2 separate regions of the Homo sapiens genome follow, and region 1 is linked to region 2. Evidence: promoter capture Hi-C in human tissues and cell types (Jung and others, 2019). All regions are on one chromosome and are shown on one strand. The core of a region is centred on a gene start or on the middle of the fragment in contact, and the rest is flanking DNA. Distances in the headings are between cores, read along the strand shown. Region 1 has its middle 13 kb from the start of LINC01567. Region 2 holds the start of SLC5A11 (solute carrier family 5 member 11).

Region 1 (3,957 bases), core at 264-2,763, 160 kb before region 2:
GGGGCTAGAACAGTGCTTGATGCTTAATAGGCACCCAACAAATGGGAATTAATTAATTAGTCAACTACTGATAGACAACTGGTTTGATTGTACCCCAGTACATTACTATTTTCACACTACCATAATTATTTCCTTGAGATAAATTCCTAAAGATGAAACTGCTGAGTCAAAAGGGATGCATATTTTAAAATGTTGCAACGTGTTGCCAAACTCCTCTGTATTTAGCTTGTACTATATTATATTCCCGCCCATCTGTCGATGAAAGCACCTCTGTTCCCCACGGCCTCGCCAGTATAAGTATCATTCATCTCTGATGTAAGTTGTGATAGGATAGTCAACTGTCTGTAAATGTTGTACGGGGGAATTGGAGAGTGGCTATTTTGTGAAACTGGGCAGAATGCACACAGTCTACCAGATCTACTTGAGTAATTAATGTAAACAAAGAATGCATCAGTCAAGGGAAGGAAAGAGAAGACATGTTCAAATTAGGTCATGAAAGGAGGACTTGTTTGATTTTTTTTTTTTTAAAGGCAGGGTCTTGCTCTGTTGCTCAGGCTGGAGTGCAGTGGTGTGATCTCAGCTCACCGCAGCCTCAACCTCTCAAGGTCAAGCGATACTCTCACCTCGCCTCCCAAGTAGCTGGGACTACAGGCGTGCACCACCACGCCCAGCTTTTTTTTTTTTTTTTTCAGTAGAGATGGGGTTTTGCCATATGGTCCAGGCTGGTCTCAAACTCCTGGACTCAAGCGGTCTGCCTGCCTCGGCCTCCCTAAGTGCTGGGATGACAGGCATGAGCTACCACACGCAGCTGAAGGAAGATTGAATAGAGGAACTCTACAAACGGAGGGCAGAAAACCGCAAGGATCCACAGGACTAATTAGGCTGGCTTCTGTTACCACCCCTATGCCTGAAAGGCCAAGGGGAAGAATGACCACTGTACCCTAGAGACTGAGAAGCCTATAGAGAGAGGGCCACCGAGGTGGGAAATGTGACTTTAAGGCAGCCAGCACGCAGAATGACCGCAGAGAAGCAGCCAGAGAATAAATGCCCCAAGCCCCGTCTCCTCCCTTCCTCAATCATCTTCTGGGGCTCCCTATTGGTCAAAACCAATGGGAAGCCAGAAGACAAGGGAGCCCATCGAACAGTGTATACACTTAGCCTCCCAAGACACAAGGCGTACACCAAGTGTTCGATAAATGCATCATTGAATTTAACCCTCACAATAATCCTTCAAGATAGTTGTTTACATTCTAATGGAAAACTGAGGCTCAGAGAGATTCATTAACTTGTCCAAGGTCACCAGCTAGTTTTGGAGGCTCCAATGCCCTGGGCTCATATGTGCTATGAAGCTTGGAACTGAGAGCAAGGAGACCCCATGACGAGCACAAACTCTTATCAGATACTGGAAGCCCCCAAAACAGCTCTAGTGGCAGGAAAAGGCTCTCCTGCAGTTTTTTGGGTTTTGGTGTTTTTTTGTTGTTGTTACTATTGTTGTTTTTGAGACAAGTTCTCACTCTATCACTCACTGGAGTGCAGTGGCACAATCATAGTTTACTTCAGCCTCAACCTCCTGGGCTCAAGCAATCCTCCCACCTCAGCCTCCCAAGTAGGTGGGACTACAGGCATACACCACCATGCCCAGCAATTTTTTAAATTATTTTGTAGAGACGGAGTCTTGCTATGTTGCCCAGGCTGGTTTTAAACACCTGTGCTCAAGCGATCCTCCCACTTGGCCTCCCAAAGTGCTTGGATTACAGGCATGAGCCACCGTGCCCAGCCCCTATCCTGCAGTTTTTATGACATGTGAGATGGTAGCTCAGGCAAGGCTCAGCAGACAAGCCACAGCTGTGTTCATCACCAACATCAGCCACCCTCTTCCCCATGGGAGGTGGTAGAGTGCCGTGCTAACAGCCCAGATTCTGGAGGTAAACTGCCCGAGTTCAAGTCCTGTTTCTGCCACCGACTAGCTGTGCAACCTTGGGCAATTTCCTTAGCTCTTCTCGCTGTCCTCAGTTTCCTCATCTGTAAAGTAAGGACAACCACAGGCCTCAGGACTTAATGAGGTAAAATAAGGAGAGTGCCCTGCACCTAGTGAGCCCTAGCAGGTATAAAGGTATTATAGGCATCGACACTAACTCACAGTGAACTGTTGCTTCCCAGTCTCTCTTCCCCTTCAAAGGTACTGATGTGTGAGCTCTCCCTAATTAGACTCTGCACCCTAAAGCCAGGAGTGTCTTGTCCAAGCCTCAGTGAGCTTCTTAACAGAGTAGTAGTAAATAGTTTAGTCTTTGTGAATCAAACATCTTTGTCACCACTATTCAACTCTGCCATTGTAGTGCAAAAGCACCCATGACAATCCTTAATGAATGGGTGTGACTGTATGTCAATAAAACTTTATTTATATGGCTGGGCACAATGGCTTATGCCTGTAATCCATTTGGGAGACTGAGGTGGGAGGATTGCTTGAGCCCAGGAGTTTGAGACCAGCCTGGGCAACACAATGAGACCTCAACTCTACAAAAAAATAAAATAAACAAGATTAGCTAGGTGTGGTGGTGGCACGTGGGGTCCCAGCTACTTGGGGGGCTGAGGTGGGAGGATCACTTGGCCCCCAGGAGGTAGACGCTGCAGTGAGCTGAGATCGAGCCACCGCATTCCAGCCTGGGCAACAGAGCGAGGCCCTGTCTTAAAACAAAAACATAACACAATTTTATTTATAGATGCTGAAATTTGAATTTTACCTAATTTTTACATGTCACAAAATAGTATTCTTCTTTGGATTCTTTTTCAGTGTTTTAAAATGTAGGGCTGGGCACAGCAGCTCACACCTGTAATCCCAGTGCTTTGGGAAACCAAGATGGGAGGATCACTTGAGGCCAGGAGTGCAAGACCAACCTGGGCAATAGAGTGAGACCCCATCTCTACAAAAAATTTAAAAATCGGCTGAGTGAAGTGACAGTTGTCTTTAGTCCCACTTACTCAGGAGGCTGAGGTGGGAGGATAACCAGAGCCCAAGAGTTCGAGGTTACCGTGAGCTGTGATCACATTACTGCACTCCAGCCTGGGCAACAGAGCGAGACTGTGTCTCTAATAAAAATAAAAACTAAAACCATTTTTAGTTCAAGGCCCACACAAAAGCAGCCGGTGTCAGGCAGGACAGACCCTCTAACAATGCACATGAAACTTCACTTTCTTCTAAACTCACTCTGAGTCAGGCCTGGGAAGCCCTTTTAGAGATAAAAGCTACCCTGGTCCCTACGGAATCCAGCTTCTGACACTTGCCTCCATGCTCTTGGGAACTTCAGCCCCTCTGGCCTTCTTGCAGTTCTTCCAAGAGGCCAAATCCTTCCAAACTCAGGGCTTCCAGAGGGGTCTCTCTCTCTCTCTGAACTGGAAGCACCTGCCCATCCACAGGCTGTGTGATCCTAGAATTGCGTTTGTCTTCTTTTCTATGATACTTCCGGGGCCCGACATAGTGCTTAGCTTAGAGTAAGTGCTCAAAAAATGTACAGGAAATTTAACCTCACAACAATCTTTCAAGGTAGTGGCGTATACACCGGTAGGGAAACTGAGGCTCAGAAAGACTAATTAACTTACCCAAGGTCATATTGTATTCTTTTTTGGCAGAAAGGGGAGAGACAAGACCTTACTCTCTGTGGCCCAGGTTGGAGTACAGTGGCACCATCTTGGCTCACTGCAACCTCCGCCTCCCAGGCTCAAGTGATCCTACCACCTCAGCCTCCCAAGTAGCTGGGATTACAGGCACGCACCACAATGCCCGGTGAATTTTGTTTATTTTTTAGTAGAGATGAAGTCTCACTTTATTGCCCAAGCTGGTCTCAAACTCCTGGACTCAAGCGATCTGCCTGCCTTGGCCTCCCAAAGTGCTGGGATTCTGGGTGTGAACCACCGTGCGCAGCCACATTGTATTATTCAGCACAATGATCTATTGCCCAA
Region 2 (4,030 bases), core at 350-2,849:
CCAGACATTCCCAAGAAGTCAGGACTGGACCCCAGGTTGGCGAAGCAGTGCACCCTCGGTGGCACCCCACTGCCTTTCCTGGTGCTGTGGCCTCTGCTGCAGATCACAGATTCATGGCCTTCTGTCTGTCCCTCTTCTCCAATCCCAGCTGTTCCTTCTGTAAATCTGTCCCCCAGGGCAGGTCCCTCCCCCAAAGGCCCCATTCATACTGGTGTTGGTCAGTCACCCAGTGTTTGCTCACCCAGGCCACCCTTTATCCAGTCAAGCCACCCTCCACTGCTCCTGCAGGACTCTAGAGCCAGGTGGCCTGGGCTGAAATCTTGCTGTGTCACTTACAACCCGGGTGATCCTGGGCCGATGACTCATCTCCTCTACCTCTGTTACCTCGTCAGTAAGATAGAGATAACAGGACCTAACTTCGAGGGTTGTTGGAAAGACCAAGTGAGTAAAGGCATGTTGTGCCCTTAGAGCCTGGCACGTGTTCATCACTGCTATTATTTCTGGCTACTCGGTGCCAGGACAGGGGCCTCAGCTGAGGGCCCCCCAGAGCCTGGCAGGCCCAGTGAAGGAGTGAGATGGGGAGGCCACGACTCCTCCCCAGTCAGCAGCTGTCCTGTGGCCATGGGGGCCTGGTGAGGCCAGATCTTCAGGTTGTTCTAGAAAAGTGAGTATTCTAGAATTATGTTTCAAGCCTCTTGGTTTGCAAATACTAGTAACTATTTTTAAAATGTTTTGGTATTTGGCCTGGCACAGTGTTTGACCCCTGTAATCCCAGCACTTTGGGAGGCCAAGGTGGGAGGATCACTTAAACCCAGGAGTTGGAGACCAGCCTGGGCAACATAGCAAGATTCTCTCTCTACCAAAAAAATGAAAAAATTAGCTGGGTGTGGTGGTGCACGCCTGTAGTCCCAGCTACTCGGGAGGCTGTGGTGGGAGGATCACTTGAGCCCAGGAGGATGAGCCTGCAGCAAGCTGTGATGCCACCACTGCACTCCAGCCTGGGTGACAGAGTGAGATCCTGTCTCAGAAATAAAAAGTAAATAAAGTTTTGGATGCTTTGAGCATCTGGCAGAAATCTTCGCTATGCCCCGCTGATGTCCTGGGCCCGATGTGGGCGCCTGGCCATGGCTCGGTCACTCCTGACGGTTTTTCAGGGCCTCAGACACCTCTTCTTCTTCTTCTTCTTCTTTTTTTGAGACTGATTTTCGCTCTTGTTGCCCAGGCTGGAGTGCAATGGTGTAATCTCGGCTCACCACAACCTCCGCCTCCCGGATTCAAGTGATTCTCCTGCCTCAGCCTCCCGAGTAGCTGGGACCACAGGCATGCACCACCATACCCGGCTAACTTTGTATTTTTAGTAGAGATGGGGTTTCTCCATGTTGGTCAGGCTGGTCTCGAACTCTCGACTTCAGGCAGACACCTGTTCTTTGCCATGCCTCTGTCTGAAGAGTATATGGAAAGGGGTTGCACAAGCAATGGTTGCTGTTCCTGTTGCTGCCACTGCGGTGAGGGCTGTGGCTGGACGTCCCTCCTGGCACTTTGCCTCTGTCCCCTCCATCCGCCGCCAGCATTTTTCCTCCCCTCCCCTTCCTCCAGCTCGTCCCAAGCCTGCCTGTCCCCAGCGTGGAGGCGGGACAGTGGAAGACTGGGTGAGTGAAGCAGGATGGTGCCTTGGGCTCCAGCGTCTCCCCAACCCCTCCATGCCATGGGTCCCCACGCAGGTGAGGACCCTGGTGGAGGACGGTGTGGGCAGAGCGTGGGACATGTCACCTTCCCCACCTGCTCAGAGTTCAAGGGTCCTGGGCTGGGCCCCGTTCTCTCTTCTGCCCTGGGGAGATCATTCACGCTTCCTTTAATCCCCGCTGCAGCTGAGGCTGGAGTTTGGAGTTTGACCCGCTTGGAGGCTCTCTCAGCAGCGGGCATATAGGAGGAAGGGTCACTGCTGTCTCCGGAAGCTCTTGGCTGCAAAGAGAGAGGATCCCGGGTATCTCCCTCCTTACAACCACCGCCACCTCCTAGTGCCTTAGAAGCCACTGACAGCCCCCAGGGCAGGTGAGCCCTGCATCTGGAATAAGGTAAGACACCCCCTGCCCCCAAACAGGTAGCCACTCTCCAAACTGGGAAGTTGGTCTGGGGACAGGTGCTGGCAGAAGGACTCCAGCTGTCACCTGTGGGGCAGGGGAAGCTCAGCCCTCTCTGCAGAGAAAGCTTGTCATACACCAGGACAATGGAGTGTGTTTGTGGGGTGGGCATGGTGGTATGAAGCCAGCAGCCGGCAGCCAGCAGCACCGTACGTGGGTCCCAGCTCTTCCACTTAACCAAGGTCAGGGACATTGAGCCAAACATTTTGCCTCACCGAGTCTCAGGTTCCTTATCTGTCAAATGGGAATATGAACCTCAGGCTGACCCACCCCACAGGTGTGTTACCCAGAGATAACGAAGGTAAATGTATCCACATAAGCATTAAAAAGCTATAGGAATGTATTTACTACAACTGCAGCTGCTGTTAACTACAAGGCAAATACAAGTCTTCACTGGTACGTGTCAGACACGTGCAGAGAACTTTACGCCTGGATCTCATCTAACTGACACAGAAACCCTGTAAGGTAGGTACAGCACCCCCTAATTCATGGACAGAGTCTAAGGGTCATTAAATAACTTGCTCAAGGTAATACAGATAGTGAGTGGCCAAGCCAAGACTCAATTCCTGTGGCCATGAGCTCAGCCACAATATCAGTGATTTTCTTTTTCTTTCCTTTCTTTCTTTTTCTCTTTCTTTCTTTTTCTTTCTTTTCCTTTCTTTTCTTTGTTCTTTCTTTCTTTCCTTCTTTCTTTTATTTCTTTCCTTATTCCTTTCTTTCCCTTTCTTTCTCCTTCCTTCTTTCCTTCCTTCCCTCCCTCCCACCTCTCTGTTTCTCTTTCTTTTCCCTTTTTTCTTTCTTTCTTTCTTTCTTCTCTCTCTTTTATTATTTATTTCTTCCTTTCTTTCCCTTTCTCCTTCCTTCTTTCCTTCTTTGCCTCCTCTCTCTCTCTGTGTGTGTTTTCTGTTCTCTCTCTCTCTCGTTTCTTTTCTGTCTTTTCTTTCACAGGGTCTCTCTGTGTTGCCCAGGCTGAAATGTAGTACTATCATAGCTCACCAGCATGCCCTGCTAACTTTTTTATTTTTATTTTTTGTACAAATGGGGTCTCCCTGTGTTGCCTTGGCTGGTCTCAATCTCCTGAACTCAAGCGATTCTCCCGCCTCAGCCTTGCAAAGTGCTGGGATTACAGGCATGAGCCACTGCACCCTACCAATCAGTGGTTTTCAAATGGTGTTCTGCTGAATTATTCTGGGCAATAGTTGACAGAAGTGTCCTAGCCCATTGGGCATCCTGCAGATAGGACTTGGAAAAATGCTGTCCCTTTTTTGGGCGGTCACAGCGTGCAAAGGATCTATAGCAAAGGCTCTAAAAATCCCACATTTATTTGTTGTACCAACATTTATTGCATGCCTGTTTTGGGGACACAATGAGAGTGACAGAGACATGGACCTTTCTTTATGGGGCTTGCTGTGCAGTGCAGACAAGGGGTAATCACACACATCAAGTGTTACACTTGATTAGACTGTGATGAGAAGTTGTGTTTGCCATGAAAGCAAAAAGCTTGGGGACCCAATTTATATTGAGGCCAAGAGGGGGCTCCTTTGGGGATATACAGCAGGCTGACATCTAAAGGATGAGTAGGAGCTTGTCCAGCAAAGAGTGCAGGGAAGAGCATCCCAGGCAGAGGGAACAGAATGGCAAAGACCCTGAGGCCAGAAATCGTGTTCCAGGAATAAAATGAATGCTAGTATGTGGTGGGGTTGGAAGCACAACAAAGCACCCCAGCAGCATGGAGATGTTTTGAGCAGGAAAATGATCTGATCTGACTCATACTTAAAGATTTCTCTGGCTTCCGTGTGAGGGGCGGATTAAAAGGAAGCAAGGCTGGGTGAGGTGGCTCATGCCTGCAACCTCAGTGCTTTGGGAGGCCAAGTTGGGAGGATTGCTTG

Evidence for each region. Contacts are between HindIII fragments. The study calls those that stand out against the background at their distance.
Region 1: a fragment that was not itself captured here is called in contact with the fragment with the promoter of SLC5A11 in region 2 in 2 of the 25 tissues and cell types used here (hippocampus and spleen).

Annotation. Positions count from the first base shown.
Region 1 is chr16:24,681,718-24,685,674 of GRCh38, forward strand. It overlaps a transcript of TNRC6A not described here. Among named protein-coding and RNA genes, the nearest start is that of LINC01567, 13 kb to the left of the region's middle. RefSeq lists an enhancer at 2,037-2,627. The HindIII fragment of the contact is 7,032 bases long and covers 1-3,957 here.
Region 2 is chr16:24,844,364-24,848,393 of GRCh38, forward strand. SLC5A11 (solute carrier family 5 member 11) reads left to right here and starts at 1,600. Exons shown (of 17, transcript NM_001352248.3): 1 at 1,600-1,649; 2 at 1,869-2,075. The HindIII fragment of the contact is 12,271 bases long and covers 1-2,924 here.